3 separate regions of the Homo sapiens genome follow, and regions 2 and 3 are each linked to region 1. The links are contacts of gene promoters, found by promoter capture Hi-C in human tissues and cell types (Jung and others, 2019). All regions are on one chromosome and are shown on one strand. The core of a region is centred on a gene start or on the middle of the fragment in contact, and the rest is flanking DNA. Distances in the headings are between cores, read along the strand shown. Region 1 holds the start of AKAP14 (A-kinase anchoring protein 14). Region 2 has its middle 13 kb from the start of SLC25A43. Region 3 holds the start of NKRF (NFKB repressing factor).

The links. The method cuts DNA at HindIII sites, captures the fragments that hold promoters and counts their contacts. A contact is called where the count stands out against the background at its distance.
Region 2: a fragment that was not itself captured here is called in contact with the fragment with the promoter of AKAP14 in region 1 in 1 of the 25 tissues and cell types used here (pancreas).
Region 3: a contact is called between the fragment with the promoter of NKRF here and the fragment with the promoter of AKAP14 in region 1, in 1 of the 25 tissues and cell types used here (adrenal gland).

Annotation. Positions count from the first base shown.
Region 1 is chrX:119,894,625-119,897,154 of GRCh38, reverse strand. AKAP14 (A-kinase anchoring protein 14) reads right to left here and starts at 1,262. Exons shown (of 7, transcript NM_178813.6): 1 at 1,168-1,262; 2 at 888-1,000. The HindIII fragment of the contact is 18,586 bases long and covers 1-2,530 here.
Region 2 is chrX:119,384,978-119,387,507 of GRCh38, reverse strand. No RefSeq gene overlaps it. Among named protein-coding and RNA genes, the nearest start is that of SLC25A43, 13 kb to the left of the region's middle. The HindIII fragment of the contact is 4,136 bases long and covers 1-2,530 here.
Region 3 is chrX:119,605,159-119,607,688 of GRCh38, reverse strand. NKRF (NFKB repressing factor) reads left to right here and starts at 1,265. Exons shown (of 4, transcript NR_163972.1): 1 at 1,265-1,958. RefSeq lists an enhancer at 1,032-1,141 and a silencer at 1,682-1,731. The HindIII fragment of the contact is 14,426 bases long and covers 1-2,530 here.

The sequences.
Region 1 (2,530 bases), core at 13-2,512:
GAAAGAAGGAAAGAAGAAAAGAAAGAAAGAAAATTGTCCATTTGGGGCCGGGCGCGGTGGCTCACACCTGTAATCCCAGCACTTTGGAAGGCCAATGTGGGAGGATTACCTGAGGTCAGGAGTTCGAAACCAGCCTGGCCAACATGGCAAAATCCCGTCTCTACTAAAAATACAAAAATTAGCCAGGCATGGTGGTGCATGCCTGTCGTCCCAGCTACTCGGGAGGCTGAGGCAGGAGAATCACTTGAAACCAGAGGCGGAGGTTGCAGTGAGCCTTGATCGCGCTGCTGCACTCCAGCCTAGGCGACAGAGCGAGACTCTGTCTCAAAAAAAAAAAAAAAGAAAAAAAGAAAAGAAAAGAAAATTGCCCATTTGGTAACTTGGACATTCAGTAACTTTGCTTTCAGCAAATTTCCTATTGATAAATCGATGAGAAGTCAAATCTGTGACCTCCAACACGAAGCACATGGGGTGTGTGCTTTATGCATGGAAGGACCTCCTTAAGACTTTCCCTGGGGAGCCTGTGCTCCAACAGGAGAGGGAAGATGGGGAGCAGTGCCCAGGAAGAAGCTCAATTTTTACCCTCACACGTCTGTGGGCCCACACCATTCTTAAGCCTCCCTCCCACTGGCATCTCCTAGTTATTTTTCTTCCCTTCCCTCCCCTCCTCTCCCCTCCCCTCCGCTCCCCTCCCCTCCCCCTCCCTCTCCCTTGTCCTCCCCTCCCCTCCCCTCCCCTCTCCTCCCCTCCCCTTCTCAGAGGCCAGATAGGCAGGGTGGGTAGGAAGAGATGGGGGGAATGGTAACGTTTGGGGTCTGGGTGATGAATAGGGAGAACCACTGCAAGTCCTTTCTGTGGACTCCCCCACCCCGGAGAATCCCCAGTACCGGAGTGAGCAGATCTTCTTTGCTTGGAACAGGAGCAGTGGTAGGTGGCTGGGGATGTCTCAGGATTCTCTCAGTAGCTTCTCTCAGATTGCCAGATGGAATGTTTGCAAGTGCTGCCAAGGAAACAACAATTTCAACCAATGGGAAGCATAGCCTACATGTTTCTGACTGCTTATGTTAATAACAGAGGGTAAGATGGGAGGGGGTGAGGGAAGGAGGGGAGAGCCAATCACAGCAACTGTCTGACCGCAATAATAGGACCAAACTGTAGTAGCTATACCTAGCTTCTCTTCAGCCGAAGATGAGCTTACAGGGCCATGCCAGGAAGAACAGTGGTGATAAGCCTCACAGCTGGTATGTATTGGGCATCCCTATGATATGCCAGTCACTGTGTTAAGCCTTCAGTGTCTGAAGTCATTTACTCCTCACAATAGCATTATGAGGTATTAGTATTTGCATATTGCAGTTGAACAGACTGAGGTACAGAAAGTACTGTCCCAAACTCACACCCAAAGCTGACTTCTTTGGCTGAGCTTTTACTTTTTCATTTCCAAATTCTGAGGTTAGGACTTCCCATGTGTACTTCATTGCTTTGCAAACCAAAAAGTATCTGAAACAGGTCTCAATTTACCAGTTTATTTTGCCAAGGTTAAGGATGTGTCTGGGAGACAGGTCTGTGCCTTTCTCCAAAGATGACTTTGAGGGCTTCAGTATTTATTTATTTATTTAAAGACAGGGTCTCACTGTCACCCAGGCTGAAATGCAGTGGCACAGTCATGGCTCACCCCAGCCTCCACTGCCTGGGCTCAAGTGATTCTCCCACCTCAGCCTCCCAGGTAGCTGGGACTATAGGTGTGCCACCACCACACCTGGCCAATTTTTAAATTATTTGTAGAGACAAGGTCTCGCTCTGTTGCCCAGGCTGGTCTCGAACTCCTGAGCTCAAGCTATCCTCCTGCCCCAGCCTCCCAAAGTGCTGGGATTACAGCCATGAGCCACCCCACCTGGCCAGGCTTCAGGTTTTAGTTTGTTTGTTTGAGATGGAGTTTCACTCTTGTTGCCCAGGCTGGAGTGCAATGGCACGATCTTGGCTCACTGCCACCTCTGCCTCCCGGGTTCAAGCGATTCTGCTGCCTCAGCCTCCCAAGTAGCTGGGATTACAGGCTCCTGCCACCACACCCAGCTAGTGTTTGTATTTTTAATAGAGACGGGATTTCACCATGTTGGTCAGGCTGGTCTCGAACTCTTGACCTTAGGCGATCCATGCACCTCGGCCTCTGATGGTGCTGGGATTACAGGCCTGAGCCATCACGCCCGGCCTAGGCTTCAGTATTTAAAGGAGAAATGCAAGGGCAGGTGCAGTGGCTCACGCTTGTAATCCCAGCACTTTGGGAGACCAAGGCAGGCAGATCACCTGAGATCAGGAGTTGGAGACCAGCCTGGCCAATATGGTGAAACCCTGTCTCTACCAAAAATACAAAAATTAGCTGGGCATGGTGGGGGGCACCTGTAATCCCAGCTACTTGGGAGGCTGAGGCAGGAGAATCGCTTGAACCCGGGAAGTAGAGGTTGCAGTGAGCCAAGATTGCACCACTGCACTCCAACCTGGGCAACAAGAGCTAGACTCCGTCTCAAATAATAAC
Region 2 (2,530 bases), core at 9-2,508, 510 kb after region 1:
CTCCTGAGTCTGGTGGGGACGTGGAGAGTCTTTATGTCTAGCTCAGGGATTGTAAATACACCAATCGGCACTCTGTATCTAGCTCAAGGTTTGTAAACACTCCAATCAGCACCCTGTGTCTAGCTCAGGGTTTGTGAATGCACCAATGGACACTCTGTATCTAGCTACTCTGGTGGGGCCTTGGAAAACCTTTATGTCTAGCTCAGGGATTGTAAATACACCAATCGGCACTCTATATCTAGCTCAAGGTTTGTAAACACACCAATCAGCACCCTGTGTTTAGCTCAAGGTTTATGAGTGCACCAATGGACACTCTGTATCTAGCTGCTCTGGTGGGGCCTTGGAGAACCTTTATGTCTAGCTCAGGGATTGTAAATACACCAATCAGCACTCTGTATCTAGCTCAAGGTTTGTAAACACACCAATCAGCACCCTGTGTTTAGCTCAAGGTTTGTGAATGCACCAATTGACACTCTGTATCTAGCTGCTCTGGTGGGGCCTTGGAGAACCTGTGTGTCGAAACTCTGTGTCTAACTAATCTGATGGGGACGTGGAGAACCTTTGTATCTAGCTCAGGGATTGTGAATGCACCAATCAGTGCCCTGTCAAAACAGGCCACTCGGCTCTACCAATCAGCAGGATGTGGGTGGGGCCAGATAAAAGAATAAAAGCAGGCTGCTGGAGCCAGCAGTGGCAAGCCACGTGGGTCCCTTTCCATAGTGTGGAAGCTTTGTTCTTTTCCTCTTTGCAGTAAATCTTGCTATTGCTACTGCTCACTCTTTTGGTCCACACTGCTTTTATGAGCTGTAAGACTCACTGGGAAGATCTACAGCTTCACTCCTGAAGCCAGCGAGACCACAAGCCCACCGGAGGAACGAACAACTCCAGACGTGCTTCTTTAAGAGCTGTAACACTCACCGCGAAGGTCTGCAGCTTCACTTCTGAGCCAGCAAGACCACGAACCCACCAGAATGAAGAAACTCTGAACACATCCGAACATCAGAAGGAACAAACTCCAGACGCGCCACCTTAAGAGCTGTAGCACTCACCGCGAGGGTCCGCGGCTTCAATCTTGAAGTCAGTGAGACCCAAGAACCCACCAATTCCGGACACACCATGTTCAGAGGCCCCTTTAGTAGCTCCACTTAGATATTTCATATGCATCTCAATCATAAAGTGTCTCAAGTGAGACCCCTGATCTACCCCACCAAATCTGTCCCTCCCTTGCCTTCCCCATCGTGGCAAATGGAAACTTTTTTTTTTTTTTTTGAGACATAGTCTTACTCTGTCACCCAGGCTGGAGTGCAGTGTTGTGATCCTGGCTCACTGCAAACTCTGCTCCCGGGCTCAAGCAATTCTTGTGCCTCAGCCTCCCTAGTAGCTGGGACTGCAGGTGCACAGCACCACACCTGACTAATTTTTGTATTAGTAGAGACAGGGTTTCACCATGTTGGCCAGGCTGGTCTCGAACTCCTGATCTCGTGATCCTTCCACTTCGGCCCAAAGTGCTGGGATTACAGGCGTGAGCCACCACATACGGCCAATTGATCCTTTTAGCATGAAAGTCAGATGGTGTCACTTCACTGTTTGGAACCCTCCAATGACTCTACATCTCAAAAATCCAAAATCCTAATACTGCTCTGCAAGGCCCTACACAATCTTTCCCTCATCCCCCCACTGCCCCCACATTATCTCTCTGACTCCTCGCCACTACTCTCTCCTGTGTTCACTCTACTTCAGTCACACTGGCCTTTCTGCTGATCCATAAACAAACCAGGCACTCCCCACCTCAGGCCTCTGCGCTTGGTGTCTCTTCTGCCTGGAATGCTTTTCCATAGCCATCTGAATGGTTGCTTCTTCACCTCCTTCAGAGATTTGCTCAAATGTCTTCTTCCCAGTGAGGCCTGAATACTCTGTTTAAAATTGTAACCCCCACCTTGGTACATTCTGTCCCCCTTCCCTGCTTTCTTGTTTTCTATAGAATTTACCACTATCCATCTGACACACTATATATTTTTCTTAAAAAAACCTCTCTCTCTCTCTCTTTTTTTTTTTTTTTTTGACAGAGTCCTGCTCTGTTGCCCAGGCTGGAGTGCAGTGGCTCGATCTTGGCTCACTGCAACCTCTGCCTCCTGGGTTCAAGCAATTCTCCTGCCTCAGCTTCCTGAGTAGCTGGGATTACAGGCATGCACCACCACATGTGGCTAATTTTTTGTATTTTTAGTAGAGATGGGGTTTCACCATGTTGGCCAGACTGGTCTCAAACTCCTAACCTCAAGTGATCCGCCCACCTCAGCCTCCCAAAGTGCTGGGATTACAGGTGTGAGCCACCACTCTGGGCCAAAATCTGTCTCTCTTTAGCCTACTAAGATGTAAGCTCTGTGAGGGCAGAGGTTTTATCTGTTTGGTATACTTCTATATTTTTGGCATTTAAAACTGTAGCCTACTAGGCACTCAATAAATATTTGTTAAATATATGAATGAATGAATGATTCTACTCATAAGTTACAGATATATATGAACCAAAATG
Region 3 (2,530 bases), core at 16-2,515, 290 kb after region 1:
TTTCACCATGTTGGCCAGGCTGGTCTCGAACTCCTGACCTCAAGTAATCCTCCTGCCTCGGCCTCCCAAAGTGCTGGGATTACAGGCGTGAGCCACCGCACCCAGCCTGTTTTATTTTCTTCACAGCATGTATCACCTTGTGAACTTTTTAAAAACATTTCGATTGTTACCCCAATAAACATGAATGCCCACCACGGAGAAAGACAGACGTGGAAATAAATTATGAAAGTGTGTAAAGTGCTGTTATCTTCTGCTCCTCTCAGTCTAATACACCCCTAACATAAAGTGTCATATAATTAGAAATACGTCATTAAAGAGTTAAAGATGGTAGTGTGTTAAAGCCACCTCATCCAATGGTCCGGCTCCTGGTGGAACATTTAGTTTTATGCAGGGCTATTTCTCCCCACCAAGATTGTAGTCAATTCCAGGACAACAGAGAAAACCCACTTTCTTTCCTTCTTTTTTGTACTCTTGCTGTATTGAGCACACAGTAGGTGCTGTGTAAATTCCCGCCGACAGACACTCATTGATTAACTGCTTTCGTGACACAGGTTGGCAGATAGGGACTGAAGTTATTGAGTGAAGCTGACTCCGGGTGGAGTGATACATTTGGCTACAGTGATTGAGCGGCTCTACCTTGCAGTACCCTCTTCTGTGGGCCCCTTTTGTATCTTGTAATCTTTTGCACTTAAGTTGATACGTGAAATACAGACTTGCAATCGTGATCAGAACTGTGTAAACAGTATCTGTGTTCGTAATTGGGATACAGTATGGACTTGAAACTGGCTAACTTGAGAAGCGGCGCTGTGGATGATTTTCTTGGCAAGTGTTTCATTTTTACTACGTTTCCGCAGTAAGCTATTACACAAAGCTAATGATGCACGATGCACAGAGCATTTCAAGCTACTCTCTGAAGAAAAGGCACCTCGGGGAGCTGACTGTTTTGTTTTGTTTTAATGTAAAGTCCAGTGCAGACCTAAATCCCTTACAAGGAACATGGTCTCACTGTCGCGCCGCTTAAAAATCCAGGGAAAAGCGTCAGACGAGCCGTGGGCTACCAACATTCATCTGAGGGCACCTTCTAACCATATTCTCGAACCTCAGAGAACCTTCCTAAATTCCCTTTCTGGAGTCCCCGCCCTCCGCTTGTCACCGTAGTGCGTCAAAGGCCCGTAGTCGTCACTGGAGGGAAAAAAGTACGTCGCGCGAGATTCTGCGACGGGATTTGGAAGTTAGGGAACAGCCGCGGCGCAAGCGCACTGGCCTCACAACCCCGGACGGCACGCGGGTAGGTAGGCTAGAACCTAGAGGAGGGGAGCAGAGCGTGCTGGGGTCTTTTATCGCTCTCCGCGCAGTGCGTGGGTCTGCGGATCCGTGGAGGTGCGGAGCCTGACTCGGCCTCCCCGGCTCGCGCGTGAGTGCGGCGGAAGCCCTTCTGCTCCTCCACGAGTTAGAGGAGTGTAGGGGACGTGCATCCCAGTGTCGGGACGCGAGCTCGTGCTCCTCTTTTCCTCCTAACGGTGGCCCCCACGCACACACTCCAGTCCCCCCGAGAGTTGATCTTCTCCCCTCAGCGCGCCCCTCCTTACCCGGCCCCTCCCACCGGCCCCCCGTTTCCGCCCGCTTGCTAGCTGCCTAGCTCGCGGTCCGTAGTCGGCTTCGTCCCTGGGGTCCCTGCTTGGGGGCGGAGAAGATGGCTGGAGGACGTCTGCTGTTGGGGGGCGACTTCCTGTCGCGCCGCCGCTGCCCCCCCTCCCGCCGCCGCCGCTGCCGCCCCTCCCGCCGCCCCCGCCCGAGCCAGTGCTGGAGCAGTGGCGCTATAGCCACGAAAGTGACTGGCAGTGGGCTCTGCGGCGCAGCTTCATCTGTCGGCACCTGCACAGCTATCCCGGGGCTGCCCTCGACCAGCTCCTCGCGCTCTCCGCCGCCTGGACCAACCACGTCTTCCTGGGCTGCAGGTGAGGAAGGTGTGGGTGTCGGGTTAGGGACGGGGGTGAGAGATCGGTGATGGGGGATCGGGTTAGGGACGGCGCTGGAGGGATCGATGATGGTGGTTGGGATAGGGACGGGGGCGGGATGCGGAGGATAGGTTGGAGGCTGGAGATTTGGAGGTGCTGGAGGGCACTAGAGGGATCACTATTGGCCTGGGGGTGGGGTGGCCGACTGTGGTGGCTGGGCATGACATAACAGCTAGGAGGGTGCAGAGATCGCGGAAGCGGCCTCTCCAGGACCAGGGATGGAGATGAAGCAGCGCCTAGAAGAGGATTATTGAGAGGTGGTCATTGTAGTTGGTGGCGGTATTAGAGGACGTGGGGAATGATGAATAGCAGCATCTCGGACCTGCGTAGGGCCTTCCAAGGATGCAGTATCCGCAGAGAATATATTCGACAGTTGGAGTTGTGGGGGAAGGGCGAGGGGACCCCACTGTTCTAGTCTCCTCCTGACCACTCTCTTTTTCCATTCCTCTTAAATACCCCCCTCTACTTGCAGCCCCCTAGCAGGGTCTTACTGTCTTCTCCTGGGGAGGCGG